Regions from separate parts of the Homo sapiens genome. Here region 2 is linked to region 1. The links are contacts of gene promoters, found by promoter capture Hi-C in human tissues and cell types (Jung and others, 2019). All regions are on one chromosome and are shown on one strand. The core of a region is centred on a gene start or on the middle of the fragment in contact, and the rest is flanking DNA. Distances in the headings are between cores, read along the strand shown.

Region 1 (3,706 bases), core at 831-3,330:
CCAATCCTGTTGCTGGAGCTTATCTCCTCAGTGATTTACCTGCCCCCTGCTTCTGGTGGAACAGTGAGTAACTGCCCAACCAGAAACCTACACACACATATTCAACACAGCGCCTGCAAGCTTCCAGCTCACCTGGACCTGGAGTGATCCCCAAGCATCCTGGGGTCAGGCACAGAAACAGGAACAGCGAGCTCCTGGCTCCAGTGCTGAATGGGGCACAGATGCATTAACTCTCCCAGTCCCATTAACCTTAGCAAGTATTTCTGCTTCCATGAAAAGGGGAAGAGGGAAAATGTCTCTAAGCTCTGGAACCTTTGGCAGTGCTGGGCATGGACTGGGCAGAGTGAGAAGTCTGTCTGAAGACCCTGGGAAAGGGTCTTCACCCCATGGGAAGAAAGGGAAGGCTTGATGTTTGGTCCAGTAAGGCCATTAATGGTCACCAACTGAGCAGACTCTGGGAGGAAATGTCTCAGTCTCTGCAGTGGCTACCAGCAGAGGTAGGGCGACATAAGCACAGAAGACAAATCTTAGAAAACCCTAGAACAACAGTCCTGTGCAGCCACATGCCCCACAGCCCTAGTAACTTAGGGAGTGATGTGCCTCCCATTTCCACACAAACACATCCAGGCATTGCACAGTGCTAGGCCCTACGACATCCGTACCCCAACATTTTCAACAGTGCGTGCTACACAGCCCAAGCTCTAGGCCCCATTGGGCACCCCACCTATGCAGGTGCCCATGCACTGGGCTAGCAACTGTCAGTAAAGGTCCCCTTCCTGTATGTCCAGAGTCCTTCAGCTCCAGCTTCTACAAGAATCCATGCAGCTAGGCCTGGCTGGGGGAGGAAGGGGACAGGGAAGTTGGCCAAGGCTCCCATGTGTGTGCATGTGGGGGTGGTTCTTGACCTTAGCTGCTTGGTACGGGGCTGTCACCTCCTTACCCTGGCACTGTCGGACCTGGTGGCTTCCTTCTCTATTTCCTGCCTCAACTCTCAGCCTCCTTTTTCTGGAAGTTGTGTGCTCTGACTTTGGAGGGATTGGGACCTCAGACCTGAGCCCAGGTGCAGATGGGAGGGTGGTGAACTGGTCGCGCCTCCTTCCTCCTTGCTACACCGAAGGTCCCAAGGGCCCTTTGCCACCCTTGCTACCCCTGGGTCCCTCAGCGCGCCCCGCAGAGCTCGGGCCCCCTCAAGAGAGTTAACTTGGCAGTGCCCAGGAGCCAGAGAGCGATCCAGAGAGCGCTGTTGGGCAGCAGGGGTGGGGAGGTGGGGGACGACTGACCCCTGACTCCTCATCCGGCCACCAGAAACCACCTGCTGAGGGGGCCGGGAACTGACGACTGAGAGCCCGGGCCGATTGTTAGAAGCTGCTGAGAACCAGCTCTTCCCCTAATCCCGGTCGACGAGGGCAGGCTGTGCCGGGTTTTGTTTCGCAGCCCCTCGGCAGCAGCGCCTCCCAGCCCGAGCTCGGTTCTCGGCCCCCTTTCCAGCTGCCCCCAGCGCGCGCAGCGCACACACACACACACACACACACACACACACACACCCCAGCGCGCGCCCGGGAGGACATGGCGTGGGCACCGATGGGGACGCAGAAAGGGGCTCTGTGCGCGGCGGGGCGCCCGCGGGGGCGCGGGGAGCACTGACCTGCGGCGACGAGTCCGGAGCGTCTCCGGTGCGGTCCATCGCGGGCAACGGCCCCTACGCCCCGGCCCCGGCGCCCCTAGACCGCTGCCCTGGGCCGCGTGCGGCTCCCTCCCCGGGGACTGTCGGGCTCCGGGCCCCCGGGGGCCACTTCATAGCCGCGGGGTCCGCGCGCCCGCCCGCCCCGCCCGGCCCCGCCGCCCCGGCCCGGCTCGTTCTGGGCTCAGCGAGGCGGCGGCCGAAGGCTGGGAGCGCGCGGGAGGGAGGGCGCGGGCAGGGAGGCGGGGGGCGGGGGGCGGGGAGGGGGAGCGGGGAGGGGGAGCGGGGAGCGGGCGCGGGGGCGAGAGGGGCGAGGGGGGCGCGCGGCCGGAGCCGAGCCGACCGGGCCGGCGCAGAGTCCCCGAGGTGGCGGCGGATGCGCCGGTGCCGCCGCGGCTCTGCCGGCGCCTCCCGCCCCGCCCCCACCCGCTCTCCGCCCCCGCCCCGCCCCCGCCCCGAGCCCGCGCCAGCGCCGGCGGGACCCGAGCTGCTAATGGTCGGTACCAACCTCGCCAGCCTAGGCGGGGGCGCGAGGAGGGAGGCCGGCGAGGGGACCCCCCCCCGGGATTGGTATCACCTCCCCACCGCCCCCCACCCTCCCCCGGCACCGTCCCCCGCGGAGGCGGCTCCCGCTTCAGGCGGCGGAGCAGGGGTGGCGGGCAGGGGCCGAGCGCACCCCCAGATCTCGGCTCTCGAGAGTTAAAGCTCGGCCCCCGCCTGCACCCCCATTCCACCCCGCCTCCATCCTGGCTGCTCCTGGCGCCCAGCTTGGCAGCCTCTCTCAAAGGGTGATTGTTTCCGGCCGGGCTGCTGCAGGAGGGCGGGGGGCGGCGCTCTGGGACCGAGAGGCCGAGCTGGGAAGCCGGTGGGGGATGCGGCTCCTTCCTTGGCTCCAGGCACCCCGGATGGGAGGTGGCCGGTGGGGGCGGACGGTGCCGTGCCGGGGTACGGGGTCTGCTGCCCCGTGGAAGGGCACCTCGAGCCGCCGCGCGTCAGCCTCACCCCAGCCTCCCCTTCCGGGCCGGTGCACCCGGCGTTCCGGAGAGAGGCCCGGGAGGCCTGCGTGGGCGGACGGGCGCGGGGAGGCCGGGGGCAGCGGGATCTCCAGGAGTTTCCCGGGCCTCTGCCGCGGTGTGTTGGTCGGCGGGGGACGGAGGCCAGTGAGTGGGCGCGCACTTGGACGTATGTGGGTGCACTGGTAGGGTGCCTCTGTGGAGCTGTATATTCCAGATACTCCTTCAGCTTGTCGGAGACTTTGAAGCCATCCTTGCACTCGTTTTAGAGGTTGGCATCTCCCGGTGCTCTTGGACACCTGTATTCGGGCCACACCCGCTGTGTCCTCTTCACAGCCCCAGGAGAAGGCCACCTCCCATGGCGGGGTTCGCGGCGGGACCAGGGACTGTCGGTACTTTCTCTAGGGTCTCCCTCCTTCCCGGGAAACCAGTTCCAGCCCCACTGCTAGGCACTGCTTAACCAGAGCTGTGCCCCCGTGCTATGGGCTGGGGCTGAGGACCACGGGCCTCTTTTCCATCAGCTTTCCTGCCCTGTTAGGACCAAGCCGGGCCCTGCTCTTCCCACTGAGGATGTGCAGGTGGGGAGGGGGCAGAGACTCCAGAATCAGCCCCTTTGGTCAAGATTTTGAGGGGAGGAAGGCACCTCACCGTCCGTATCATGCCACAGACATGTGAAAGTGTCCTTAGTGACTATCTCTAGGGATAACTGCTCCTCCTTGTCGTGCGCTCTTTCATTGTTGTGCTTAACAGCCCCCTTTGCCGGCAAGAAACTTCCTCTGAATCTAACCTCAGTACCTCCTGCTGCGGTACAGGAGCATTTCCCCCTTCTCTTAATGAGTGGAATCCCAGCCAGCCTTGCTCCGCCTTCTTCTGCCCCTACTACAACCCTCTCTTTTAGACTCTGCTAAGAGACCTTTCCTAAGTCGGTGTTCTCTGGTATTTTCCTAGTCTCCATACTCTGCTTCTCCTTAGACTCCACACCAGCTGAAGGGAGGGGAAGGGCAGGTGCAGA
Region 2 (3,706 bases), core at 376-2,875, 52 kb after region 1:
ATCATTTATAATTGTAAAACAATGGGAACATTGAAAATGCCTATCAATAGTGAATTGGTAGAGCAAATTATTGGAGATCCTTACAATAAAACACTAACCCTTAAAGATAGTGATGAAAATGAAGAGACTTGAATGCCATTTTTCATGAAACAGAATAATAGAACGGCATGTATAGTATCCTATAGCCTGGACAGTATCCTACAATGCCCATTGTATAGTAGGGTATATCAATGTCTATATGTGAAAGGGAGTATTCTGAAAGGGAGGTCACTAAAAAGTAAGTGGTAAGTGTCTTCAGGTCTGAGAGAGTTTTTTTTTTCTCTTTTTTGGGGGGATTTCACATGTTTGAATTTTTACATGGAAAATATGTCATTTTTATAAAAAGAGTAAATATATTTAGTTAAAAATAAACTACCTGTACGATATCAGCTGTGGCATCTCACTGAGTCTCCTGGAAGGCTTTGCGTTTCTTTAGAGCAGCTTTTTCACACTGCAGGTTAAAACCCATGACTGCTTGTGAAATCAGTTTGGTAGGTTATAGACAGCATTAAGAAACAAAAAAAAATGTATAAAATTGAGCATTACCTTGTGAAATAATAATAATTTGATAAATACGTCTGTAAGTCCCATTTGTGAGGTAAAATGCTATCCTTTTCTAGGGCCAGGAGCCCTGCTTTGGAGTTTGCTAAAGATGTCCTTCTGAGCAGCCAGGTTCCCAGGGTACACTGAGGAGCCCCTCCACCCCTTGAAGTAAGGAACACAGGGGCCCGCAGGGATGCTGGCTTTCTCCTCATGGCTTACGGCGTCCACACTGGCACTCACATCTCGCTCTTTCTCCTTTCTTTTATCCAGGGCATTGGATGAGCTGTGCTTGTTGAAACTGTAGGATAGAAACACAGCTTTCCATGCCCACCAGCTTGCTGAGGGCCGTGCTGCTGGCACCACAGAGCCACACCCTTGTGAATGTTTGAGGAGAATGTGCAGGGCCCCCTTGTGAGGTTCTGTGGAGGATTCTTTAGTGCTTCCTCTGGACTGAATTTAACATTATGTTGATAATGATTCAAAAGAAGGGTATAGACAGGGAGACCATGTATAGCAATAAGACTAATGACACTACTCATAAAACACTTTATAACTCAAATGCAATATGACCACTGGAAAACGTTTTATTAATTATGTTTTTATTTTCTGTATTTTATGATGCCCTTGAGGACCCAGAGAGAGACTGCCTCTCCCAGGGTTTGCTCATTCCTGGAGATCACCAGCAACTTGCCTGCCAGCAGGTCTTTGATATGCAAACCCACCAGGCTGGAGCGCCCGTGATCAGGATCCTGCAGTCTGGGACACTATCTCCCTGCCCTAATCATCTCAGGGCCAGGTGCCGGGCAGCTAGAGACTGCCCGTGTAACCAGAGCCTTCTGGAATCCCAAACTACCCAGGCCTGAGCCTGCCCAGCCCTCCCCCTGCCTCCCCATTCCTTTTCACCACTCCCAAGGATTTTGCCCAAGTTCTCCTCTCGTCCCCACCCCTGACTGACCTGGTGCTTCTCCACATGGCCCTGAGCGGGGTGGTATGGACTGCCCCTCCTCTTGGGAACTGTAACAAACTATCTTTTCAAAGACAAGCGTCTCCTGATCTGTTGGCCTTGTCGTGTCCAATTAAAATAAATCCTGGGTACATTTTAAAATCAGGGTCAGTCACCTCCAAGCTTTCAAAATTCCCAGATTATTCAGAAATATGAACAGCAGGCTCAAGTCACTGAGGATTTACATCCTCATTTTGCTAACAGATTTAAGACCACAGAGAACTTATTCTGTGAGCAGAGGGGCCACCTGGAGGGTGAATGGCATTTAAAACACACCATAATAAAGTCCTGGGATGGGATAGTCATGGCCTTAATGTTTCCTATGAGAGTTAAGAGGTCTGGATGAAGATGCTCTTCTGTGCTGCCTATTTGCAAGAGCGCTCATTTGTGGCCCCGAATGCAAGGTGAGAATCACCTCTGCCTGGGATGAGTTGGGAATGGAAGCGACACCCTCTAGATAATCATTTCTCACAGGCCTCTTGCTGAAGGTGCTCGGCCTCCCGATGCCCTTTCCTATCACAATGAGCACATACCTGGAGCTATGTCATGCATGGGCTGTGTGTACTCTTTCACGGAAAAGCTTCTCATCTTCCTTGCCAAAGGATGGTGTAAAAACTTTCAGGCCAGTTCACACCAGGGAGAGTCTATGCTGGACGCATTCATGCTGCTAGAACAATTCGACAACAGGAAATTGTCAGCTGATTTCTTAAGCTCCCGGGAGCTTACGAGGGGAGTCCAGGATCCCTCCTTCTGGATTCAAGCACTATACCAATTCACTTACAAAAGAGAAATGCTCTAGGAGAACAGGAGTTATGTACTGAAACATCACAGCAAACAAGGTAGTCAGCGCTTTCCCATGTCTGTGGGCTGGTCCTAGTGGCCCTTAGGAGGAGATGCTTGGTGGATTCCGTAAGTGCCCTGTGAAGCTCTCCTGTTTCCAGGCATGGCATGCTGGATCTGCTGGGGCAGGAGGGGTGGGTGGAGTGGAGACCATATGACACTGTATATGCCTATGCCTAACAATAGAACTTCTCTAGACCCTGATTTCCTGAATTTTGGGAGAAGCCATATTTCAATTACGTCTCAATGATAGGTGAAGTAGGGTGGTTGTAGGGAAAAACACATGTTGAGAATTGTCCCAGCAAAAAACAACCCCTGACCTGCCCTCCCAGTGTCAGGCCTGCATTCTCTCTGCTCCGTAACTGCCCACATGTATGGGGGGCTTACCAAGTGCTTAGTTCCACCCATGTGTCGCCTCTTCAGTCCTTACAGTGACTGTGTCAGGGTTATTATTACAGCTTATTAGCATGGAGCCTTACCCAGAGGTTGAAGAACTTATCTGAAGTAAGCGCAGTGAGAGTAGGGTATGGATTTGAGCCTGGTATGTGCCACACTGAAGCTCACACTCATAACCCAAACCACATTGCCCCAGTGGCCCCATATCCAGCCAAAATTCACCACGGGTTCCTTCTACACAGTGAGCGGGAGGGTCAAATTAAAAGATTTGTTACAGTTTGTTACAGTTCCCTTCTGGAAGCAATTCAGTTTCAAGCATGTTTTCCTCTCCGCAGAGGCAGCCATGACTGGCCACTTCATGTGCTCCTGGAGAAGGGCTTGCACCAGCCGTTTTCAGGAAAGTCAAGCAGCTGTTGACTCCTGAGTCTGGGTGAATTTGTGTGAAGAGCATAAGGCGCTGTTTCTTAACCAAAACGCTTCCTCTTGCAGTGCAGATGGGATGTGCTTCTCCACAGGAGGCCCCACGGCTTCCCCACCCCTCAGAGGAGCGCCGTGCGTGCGTCTGTGTGGAGGATTGGCAGCTCCTGCAGTCGGCCCTTGGTCCTATTTGGCGACGCCTCTGCCTTCCCCTTAATTATACAGTCATGAGCCGCCCTGGAATCACGGCAGCTCCGGATGGATCCTGGATGCCAGAATGCAGCCTCAGCACGGGGCTGCAGGACAGGAGTGAGCGAGGGGCTGCAGAGCCGGCGGCCGCGGTGGGCACCATGGAGGGGGCTGCCCTGGGCAGCACGGGCATGAGTCTCAAGGCCCAGGTTTGAGTAACAGGTGTTGAGAGCTTACTTACTTTTCCTGAGACACAGTTTCCTCATCTCGAGAGCACGG

The links. The method cuts DNA at HindIII sites, captures the fragments that hold promoters and counts their contacts. A contact is called where the count stands out against the background at its distance.
Region 2: a contact is called between a fragment that was not itself captured here and the fragment with the promoter of B3GAT1 in region 1, in 2 of the 25 tissues and cell types used here (dorsolateral prefrontal cortex and pancreas).

What each region holds. Positions count from the first base shown.
Region 1 is chr11:134,410,162-134,413,867 of GRCh38, forward strand. It overlaps B3GAT1 (beta-1,3-glucuronyltransferase 1), which reads right to left and starts at 2,081. Exons shown (of 6, transcript NM_054025.3): 1 at 1,646-2,081. RefSeq lists an enhancer at 670-1,229. The HindIII fragment of the contact is 21,477 bases long and covers 1-3,706 here.
Region 2 is chr11:134,463,030-134,466,735 of GRCh38, forward strand. It overlaps B3GAT1-DT (B3GAT1 divergent transcript), which reads left to right. Exons shown (of 6, transcript NR_033852.1): 2 at 3,311-3,706. Among named protein-coding and RNA genes, the nearest start is that of B3GAT1-DT, 28 kb to the left of the region's middle. RefSeq lists enhancers at 2,969-3,534, 3,535-3,706. The HindIII fragment of the contact is 3,603 bases long and covers 1-3,427 here.